Regions from separate parts of the Homo sapiens genome. Here regions 1 and 3 are each linked to region 2. The links are contacts of gene promoters, found by promoter capture Hi-C in blood cells and fetal thymus (Javierre and others, 2016). All regions are on one chromosome and are shown on one strand. Each heading gives the region's core, a stretch centred on a gene start or on the middle of the fragment in contact. The rest is flanking DNA. Distances are from core to core; before and after follow the strand shown.

Region 1 (3,257 bases), core at 175-2,674, 230 kb before region 2:
CTGTAATAAGGGGATCATCCTGTCCTTGAACAAGACCCAGCTCTGTGGTCCTAACTGCACTTCTGGCCCTGCTTCCAGCACTGCTGACTGGAGCCCCTGGGCTCTCAGCACCAGGCAGTAGTGAGGCTCCATGTCCCAGGAGTGAGGCCTGACTACCCCAGGAGTGTGCTCAAGTAAGGGCAGCCCAGGCGGTGGACAGAGTTTTGTTGTGTGTATTCCATCAAGGTGAGCAATGCCTGCTGTGTTCACTAGCTTCTTTTTGCGCAACCATCAATCTCTCTCTCTCTCTCTCTCCCCCTCCACTGCCCCACTCTCCTCTCTTCCCCTCCCTGTCTTTTCCCTCCTCTCCTTCCTTCTCTTCCTCTCTCAAGTTGAAAGAAGAGTAGCTCAGTCATCTTCCAGAATTGCTTTTTAGCTCCGAGTCACCTGGCTCCACAGCCCCCGACCACTGTATGCCTACTTAGCTGTTCCTCCCCTTCCCCTCTACCCTCACCCTTGGCAACTACCAGTCGGCTTTCCATCTGTATGGATTTACCTATCTGGGACATTTCATATAAATGGAATCACACCATATGTGAACTTTTGTGTCACCTTCTTTTTTTTTACTTTGTTTATTGTTTTCATTGTTACAATTTCTACAATTGTATCCCCATTGTAGAATTTATTAGTATTTCATTCCTTTTTATAACTGAATAAATTCAATTGTATCCATGTATCAGCATTCATTTATCCATTCATCTGTTGATGGACACTTGGGCTGTTGTGAATAGTGCTGTTATGAACATACATATACATGTATTTGCTTGAGAACCTGTTTTCAATTATTTTGGGGTGTACATGTAGGAGTGGAATTGCTGCGCCACATGGTAATTCTGTTTAAGTTTTTGAGGAATTGGCAAACTGTTTTCCACAGAGCCGCATCAATTACATTCCCATCAGCAGTGTATGAGGGCTCACATTTCTCTCCAGATTCTTCAACCTTTGTTATTTTCTATTTTCCTGTTTATTACAGTCATCTGGGTGGGTGCGTATGATATCCTGTGTAGTTTTAATTTGCATTTCCTTAATGAATAATGACGCTGAATATCTTTTCCATGTGCTTATTGGCCATTTGTATTCCTTTTTGAAAAAAGTTTATTCAGATTTTTTCCATGTTTTAATTGGGTTGCTTATTTTATTATTATATAGTTGTAAGAGTTTTAAAATATATTCTGGATACTCATCCCTTATCAAATACATGATTTGCAAACACTTCTCTCATTATGTGGATTGTCTTCATTTCCTTGATGCTTGCAGTGCATAGGTTTTTAATTTTTGATGAGGTCTATTCTTCCTTTTGTCTCTTGTGTTTTTGGTGTAATATCTAAGAAAATATTACCTAACTTGAGGTCATCAAGATTTACTTCCACGTTTTCTGCTAGGAATTTTTTTAGGAAATTGACAAAGAATAATTGTTTATTCACATTGGGTAAAATGTGATGATTTAATGTAGGCTTAACTTGTTGAATGATTAAATCCAGTTAATTACGCTATCTATCACCTCAGGTACTTATAATTTTTTAATTTTGTTTATTTTTTGTTTTTGTAGAGACAGGGTTTCATTGTGTTGACCAGGGTGGCTTGAAACTCCTGGCCTCAAGTGATTCTCCCCACTTGGCCTCCCAAAATGCTGGGATTACAGGCATGAGCTACAGTACCTGGCCCTAAGGATTTTTAACATACAAGATCATGTCATTTGCAAATAGAAACCATTTTACTTCATCTTGCTCAATCTGAATGCATTTTCTCTTCTTGCCTAACTTTCCTGGCTTGAACCTCCAGAGCTATGTTGAATAGAGTGGTAAGAGTGAATATACTTATCCTGTTCCTGATGTTAGGGGGAGAGCATTCAATCTTTCACAATTAAGTATGATGTTAGCTATGAGTTTATTGTAGATGCTCTTTAACAGGTTGAGGAAGCTCTCTTCTGTTCCTAGTTTGTTCTTTGTACTTTATCATGAAAGAGTGTAGATTTTGTCAAATGCTCTTTCAATATCATTTGAGAGAATTACGTGACTTCCTCTATAGTCTAGTAATATGGTATATTATATTGATTGATTTTCTTATGTTGAACCAACTGCATCCCCGGGATAAATCCCACTTGGTCATGATGTATCATTGTTTTTTTTTTTTTTTTTTTTTCGGAGTCTCGCTCTGTCACCCAGACTGGAGTGCAGTGGTACGATCTTGGCTCACTGCAATCTCCACCTCCCGGGTTCAAGCAATTCTCCTGCCTCAGCCTCCCAAGTAGCTGGGACTACAGGAGCGTGCCACCATGCCGGGCTAATTTTTTGTATTTTTAGTAGAGACGAGGTTTCACCATGTTAGCCAGGATGGTCTCGATCTCCCGACCCCGTGATCCACCCACCTTGGCCTCCCAAAGTGCTGGGATTACAGGTGTGAGCCACTGTGCCCGGCTGATATATCATTCTTTATATATGCTGCTGGATTTGGTTTGCTATATTTTGTTGAGGATTTTTGAATTTATATTCATAAGAGATGTTGGTCTGTAGTTTTTTCTTTTTAATTTCTTGTGATATCTTTGATTTTGGTGTTAGGGTAATACAGACCTCAGAGTAAATTGGAAAGTTCTGTTTGACTTTTTTGAAAAGTTTGTGAATGATTGGTATTAATTCTTCTCTAAATGTTTTGTAAATTTTACTGTCTGGGTCTGGAGGGGCATTTCCAGTATATGAGCATTCCCCTTTCTCTGCATCCTTGCCAGCATCTGTTATTCTTTGTCTTTTTGATAAAAGCCATTTTAACCGAAGTGGGACATCTCAGTGTGGTTTTGATTTGCATTTCCCTGATGATAAGTGTTGTTGAACATTTTTTCATATATCCGTTGACTATTTGTATGTCTTCCTTTAATACATGGCTATTCAGACCTCTTGCCCATTTAAAAATCAGATTCTTTATTTTTCCCAGCAATACAATTACATACATATTGTTTCATGCCATGACTTTTAAAACCAGTTAAGGGGAGAAAGGGTAAGAAATAAGCGATTATGCTGTTTTTATAAGTAATTACACAATTACATATAAGCAATAATTATATAACATGCATACAAGTAATAATTACATAATTACATATGAACAATTATACCTTTCTTAGTGCTCTCCAGAGGGTGCAGCCCTAAGCATACGCACTGTCTCTCTAACTACTCCAGATAGTTATGGCATAAGCTGGCCTCTTTTTGACTGTCCTTTCCTTGATG
Region 2 (3,108 bases), core at 10-2,509:
TAAGTTTGTAGGGAGGAGAATACGGTTTATAACTCTGCAGGCAGAAAGCCTGTAGCCAAACCCTGGCTTCATCACCTCCTGTATGTGATCATCCCCCCGGGCCTCAGTTCCGTCAACTGTAAGAGGGGTTAATAATAACATGGATCTGGCAAGCTTGTCGTTGAGTATATGATAATTTCTGAAAAGTGCTACAGATGCCTGGTGCACAATTCAGTAACAGCATGAGTACAATGTATATGAGAAGGCAGAACACAGAAGATGAAAACACACCACACAGGTCAGGCACGGTGGCTCATGCCTATAGTAATCCCAGCACTCTGGAACACTGGCAGGTGGCTCACCTGAGGTCAGGAGTTCGACACCAGCCAGGCCAACATGGCAAAACCCCGTCTCTACCAAAAATATAAAAATTAGCTGGGCGTGGTGGTGTGCACTTGTAATCCCAGCTACTCAGGAGGCTGAGGCAGGAGAATCACTTGAAGCCAGGAGGCGGAGGTTGCAGTGGCCCAAGATCGCACCATTGCACTCCAGCCTGGGTGACAAGAGCAAAACTCCATCTCAAAAAAAAAAAAAAAAAAAAAGGAAAATATTATTTATAAAATAGAAAATTAAAAAAAAAATTTTAAATACACATTTTTAAAAACCACTTGCAGGCTCTCACACACTGCATATCCAGGATTCACATGCAGGCAGCCTGGCTCTAGACGCGGGGCTCCAGTGCCTCCGGTGTCTCAGCCCGTGACTTCCCTGCTCTCAACCTCAGTTTACTCCACTGTGAAATGGACTTCCAGATACTCACCTCTTGAGTTTGCTGCAAGCGTAAATGGCATCAGGCTTGGACCTGGGGGAAGGAAGTGTTTTTAAAATGGGTAGCTTTGTTACCTCAGTCCTTGCGGGGAGAAGATGTGCCAATGCCCCGGGCCTCTGCGATGTAAGTTCCTGTTGAGTTGTTCAATGTTCCACTGAGAGGAGAGACAAGCAGGACCGGGATCCCGGCCCCGGGTCTTCCAGAAACGGCGGGGCGAAGCGCCCAGGGGCCTGTGCGTCCCTCCCTGCTGAGCGAGGGGGCCTGTCATTGCCGTGGGCGTGACCCAGACCCCAACCACAGTGCATCCCGCCCTGGCCCAGCCAGAGAAGGAAGCTGAGTCTGGGGTCTGCTGGGCCAGCAGGAAGTCCCAGCAGGGTGTGAAGCAAGACTTTCCGGGCCACTCCTGGAATCCCCCAGCAGATAAAGGCGGCCCCTCCACCGGGCGCTCCTAGCGGTCTCCCGGACCCTGCCGCCCTGCCACTATGTCCCGCCGCTCTATGCTGCTTGCCTGGGCTCTCCCCAGCCTCCTTCGACTCGGAGCGGCTCAGGAGACAGAAGACCCGGCCTGCTGCAGCCCCATAGTGCCCCGGAACGAGTGGAAGGCCCTGGCATCAGAGTGCGCCCAGCACCTGAGCCTGCCCTTACGCTATGTGGTGGTATCGCACACGGCGGGCAGCAGCTGCAACACCCCCGCCTCGTGCCAGCAGCAGGCCCGGAATGTGCAGCACTACCACATGAAGACACTGGGCTGGTGCGACGTGGGCTACAAGTGAGTGTGGCAGGGGGGCACGGGCTGGACTGGGGATCCCAGAGGCAAAGGTGTGCAAGTGCCCGCCAGCGGGACCATTTCTAGGCCTGGTGCTGAGGCCACCTGGCTGACACCCTGAGCAGCTTACTGAACCTCACAAGGTCATTTCTTCCTCGGGTCACCACGTGGGCCGGGGCAGGTGCTCACAGCACAAAGATGCGTGAGAAGGGGGGATGGGCTGAAATCCAAGCCCCGCTCCCGCTCCCGGGAAGAAGGGGCAGGCTTTGCCTAACACACACCAAGGTGTCCGCGACGCCTTATGAAGGCGCCCCTTCCTGATGCCTGGTGCCTTTGTTAGGAGGCGGAAAACCAGGCTGACTCAGTGCGGAGCTGGGTTCCAGGGTCAGCTCATCTTATTGCTGGCTGAGGCCTGGGGCGGGTCCTCCCGGCTTCAGCTTCCTCCTCGGCAAAGTCAATGGAATCGCGGCCCATCTGCTCCTTATATGAGCCAATACAGGCAAAGCACCTAGGAACTGCCTGGCACACGGGGGCCCGCAAAGCCACGGGCTATTACCATTAGGCACCTACTATGTGCCAGGCAGTGTGCCAGATGTGGCATGGAGAACGGTGCCACTCTAGCCTCCTGGGGTTGAAAGACCAGCAGGGAGAAACAAGCCAAGGCCACAGGTGAATTCAGACGGTGATAGAGGCGATGGATAAAAGGAAAGAGGTGAGGGAGGGTGACCTCAGGCTGGGACCAGACCCACACAGGCTCCTTGGAAGGGTGGGGCAAGGGAAAGCCTCCCTGAGAGTGGCTGCCTTGGCTCTGGGATGGGGGAGCAGACAGAGGCCTGCAGGTGGCAGGGGGTGCTGGGGGCAAAGCCAACGGGGTTGAGTGGGCGGGTCCTGTGGGAAGGACAGGGTGGCTGAACACAGCCGGGCGAGCGGAATGAAATGAGGAAAGGGCAGGACCAGGCAGGGCTTTGTGGACCACAGTGAGGACTGTAGCTTTTACTCCGAGATGGGAGCCATGGGAGGCTTCCCCCCGCAGAGCAGGGACCAGGGCTAGTGTAGGTACAAGAGACTCCCTCTGGCTGCTGTGGGGAGAACAGACTGTAAGGGGTGCCGGCTGAAGCAGGCTGAAGCAGGTCCGGGGCCACGCCTACCAGCTACCTCCTCCTTAGAATGGGCTGCAGTCCAGCCTGACGGTTTCCACAGGGAGGGAACTTTCAATCCTGCAGGCTCTCAGACCCAGGTAAGCATCAGAATCTCCTGCAGAGCTTATTGGAGGAACATGCAGGTCCCCAGAGACCACTTCAATAGACCCCACCCAGGGGACACATGTTCTCAGGACCTCCTAAGGCTGTGTCTCACACACACACACACACAAAACCCACCCAGAGAAGTCTAGAAGTGTCCAAAGGTATTCCCAGCCCTTCCAGTTCAAGATTTTATCAAAGACTCCAACTTCAACATTTTGTTTCCAAGACTCAGGCGCTCTGATCCTAAGTGTTCCCATGAGGTCACGAAGGCCCGAGCCTCGGGTCCACAT
Region 3 (3,420 bases), core at 855-3,354, 190 kb before region 2:
GATGGTTTTTTCTGAGGGTCTATCCCTTGGTTTATCCATGGCCAATTCCTCCCTGTGTCTTCACATGGCCGCTGAGTGTGTGTCTGTGCCCTAATCTCCTCTTCTTATAAGGACACCAGTCAGCTTGGATTAGGTCCTGCTCATATGACCTTTTACTGTAATCACCTTTTCAAAGGCCTTATCTCCAAATACAGTTATATTCTGAGATACTGGGGTTAGGACCTCAACACATGAATTTAGGGGGAGACATAGGTCATCCCATATTAATGCCCAAACAAAATTTATTACTTCACATAGTCATGCCCCAAATGAAAATTAAACAACCCAAAATTAAATAGAATTTTTAAATTTCATCATTTCTTTATTACTATTTTATTTTTTTATTTTTTTGAGATGGAGTCTCGCTCTGTCACCCAGGCTGGAGTGCAGTGGCGTGATCTCGGCTCACTGCAAGCTCTGCCTCCTGGGTTCATGCCATTCTCCTGCCTCAGCCTCCCGAGTAGCTGGGACTACAGGCACCCGCCACCACGCTGGGCTAATTTTTTGTATTTTTAGTAGAGACGGGGTTTTGCCGTGTTAGCCAGGATGGTCTCGATGTCCTGACCTTGTGATCTGCCTGCCTCGGCCTCCCAAAGTTCTGGTATTACAGGCGTGAGCCACCGTGCCTGGCCGATTTCTTCTTTTTTTTTTTACTATTAATGTTATTTTTTATGAGAGACAGCACGCCAAGTATTGCTGTAAATATTAGGATTAATTCTACTGATGTACTTCATGATCATGTATATTTTATGAAGATTTATTAGATCAAAAATTACAAGACTTAAAGTTACCACTCTTGGATTAACTGTACATTTTTAGCACTGTTTTTATCTATTGGAATATTTTCATAGCTATAGTTAGTAAAATTCACCATAATCATTAATTAGAGCCATAATTACACTTTTATAATAAATATACATTTATACTTTAACCGATGGATAAAACATCAACCTAAATATCCAAAAGGAAATTTTTAATCAAGTGACTCCTAGGAGGGTGTCTGTTCTGACGGTGGCTATTCAGGAACAAAGAGCAAATCTGAAGAAAAGGCCTGGTTCCCACTCTGGCCACACCTGTTGCCACACTGATGGGATGTGCTGATCACAGCAAGATCACAGTCAGGATAAGTGTGGGGCCAGCAATGGCCTTTCTCAAGGCACTTTGTGCTGAGGACACGTGACAGCCTGTGTGGTGTGTGTGTGTGTGTGTGCGCGCACGCGTGTGTTTGCTTCTGTTTTTCTGTGGGTAAATACATGACCCAGTAATTTCTCAAAATAATTTTATTCTTACTACATAAGATCCACTCCATCACAGCTCTTTGTGTTCTGCTTTCTTGTTTATTGGATACCTCTTCAGGCCCTGGACGGCTCATGGAGGAGACAGGGACTCTCCCCAGGTCGAAGGCCCAAGGCCTGGATGATGGGGTGGGGCCCAGGATGGGTGCCAGGGGTCTGGAGGACATGAGTGGATGAAGGCCCTGGGCTTCAGCTTCCTCTTGGTGGAATGTGGGTGATGAGGTCCGACCATGCAGCGCTGCTGTGAGGACCGGATGAGAGGATCCCTGGGAGGTGGCCGGTGACTTGGTACCGTCACCTCAGTGACTGTTCTTCATCCTCATGGATGTTCAGAGAAGACTGGTTCATTCCCTCTGGTGGCCGTCTGTCCACCAGACAGGACCGATACATCCTCTGAAAATTTCATCACTTTAGGCAATAGCACTTTCATTCTTTTCCAGTTCATCTGATGCCATTTAAATCGACCTGGTGATTCTGGGAAGCCCGGGATTCCTGTCCCTTTGAGGAGACGCCAGGTGCCATCTGTGTGCATGCGTGGCATTTGGGCGGGAACCCAGAGCCCCGACTCTGGGCTTGTTGAACTCAGGTCCAAGGAGGGATTCACTACGTTGGTGTAAGGTGCGGTCTGTGTTTCAGATTCTTGTGCCAGATGAGGTGATGCTTTGATGTCAATACCTCGCGTTGGGGGAAGGTGGAGGATCTGGACCAGTGGTGTAGGAGGCCAGGATGGGGCGGGACCCAGACACATGAGGATTCCGGGTTTCAGAAGGACGGAGCTGAGCAAGGCCACTCGGCGCACGCGCGGTGCCTTGAGCGCCTACATCCAGATGTGCATCTTCCGTGGGGCCGTCCCGGGGCGGGGTCTGAGCTGGGAGACCTGCCTCTCTCCTGCTCTCCTAGAGTCACTTAAAACTTTTTAGTTTTCCGTTTAAATGACCAAATGAGATCATTTCATGGGGTGGTGGGGGGAGTGGAGGCAGGGAGAGTCACAAACAGAAAGCGGCCAAGACAGCTGTGGGAGAGGGAAGGGGAAGATGGGGTGAGTGGACAGCCACAGATACGACTGGCACTGACATTTAGAAGAAGATTGGGTGGAACCAGGGCTCGGTATGGCTTTGGGCAGTTCAGAAACTGAAACAGGGCTGTGGATGGGGCTGACCCGGGCGCTGTGGATGGGGAATTGCTGTGAGCAATTCACGCCTGGAGATTTGGCTGGGCATGGGAACAAGAATGAGGGAACAGGGAGTTTGGGGTGGGGAGCGAGCCCTGGTGGTGGCTGAGATGGGAGATGGGTTCGGTTGGGAATGGGGTCCTCCCCTCCTTACCCAGAACACGGCTTCGGGGAGCCATTGCTCTGGGGCGGCTGCAGCGGAGTGAGCTGGTGATCAGCCGATCTCAGCCACTCCTTGTATCCCATATTCCTAGAGGAGCTGGTGATGTCACGGCATGTCTGGCCCTCCTGCAGAGACAGGCTGGGTCGCTGGGCAGTAAAGGAGCCAGGCAGGGTATGTGTCATAGTAGATTTGATCTCAGACACTTTGAGAACCCAGGGAGAAGTGGTGCACCCTCCGCTTCTGTGTCCTACATGCCCCCTCTTTGGCAAACAGGAAGGTGCAGCATGCTCCTATAGTTACCGCCCTCCCCCACTCACACAGCCACACAGTGATTCCACAGGATCCCATTGAGCTATGACTTTCTCCACTTTCCTTGGTACATTGCTAACCCCTGACATCCTCTAATCAGGTCCTAACTTCACAACCCAAGCCCATGGCCCAGGATGCAGTAACTGCTCACTCACCTGCAGCTCATGGCATTCGGGTGGGAGAGACTGTGCGACTCAGGCACCTGACTTTCACAGGTTTGGAAGGTGGGAGTGGAGCTGGCGGGACCCCTGGGACTCACACTCCTCTGGGGGCTCTTCAACTCCTTCTCTGTTTCATTAATGGTCATTTATCCAGGAGAGGTCCACTTGGAAGCCCACATGTCCCAGGCTTTGTGTCAGACACTGGTGATGCAGTGCTGAGTAGAAAATGCAAAGTCAGTGTCTTCGTGACGTTCATGACAGTGAGAGGAGAGAGAGAGAGAG

What was found. Contacts are between HindIII fragments. The CHiCAGO score rates a contact against its expected background, and 5 or more counts as called.
Region 1: a contact is called between a fragment that was not itself captured here and the fragment with the promoter of PGLYRP1 in region 2, in 1 of 17 cell types (endothelial precursors). The highest score is 5.0, in endothelial precursors.
Region 3: a contact is called between a fragment that was not itself captured here and the fragment with the promoter of PGLYRP1 in region 2, in 1 of 17 cell types (M2 macrophages). The highest score is 5.3, in M2 macrophages.

The regions. Positions count from the first base shown.
Region 1 is chr19:46,246,290-46,249,546 of GRCh38, reverse strand. The region is part of intron 1 of LOC124904728 (a long non-coding RNA gene); the gene reads left to right. Among named protein-coding and RNA genes, the nearest start is that of IGFL1, 18 kb to the right of the region's middle. The HindIII fragment of the contact is 3,692 bases long and covers 1-3,257 here.
Region 2 is chr19:46,021,204-46,024,311 of GRCh38, reverse strand. It overlaps PGLYRP1 (peptidoglycan recognition protein 1), which reads left to right and starts at 1,259. Exons shown (of 3, transcript NM_005091.3): 1 at 1,259-1,577. The coding sequence starts at 1,291. RefSeq lists an enhancer at 1,766-2,651. The HindIII fragment of the contact is 5,413 bases long and covers 156-3,108 here.
Region 3 is chr19:46,212,723-46,216,142 of GRCh38, reverse strand. LOC93429 (a long non-coding RNA gene) reads right to left here. Exons shown (of 6, transcript NR_027003.1): 4 at 3,133-3,353; 5 at 2,660-2,814; 6 at 1,305-2,346. It also overlaps a transcript of IGFL2 not described here. Among named protein-coding and RNA genes, the nearest start is that of IGFL2-AS1, 11 kb to the right of the region's middle. The HindIII fragment of the contact is 6,207 bases long and covers 1-3,420 here.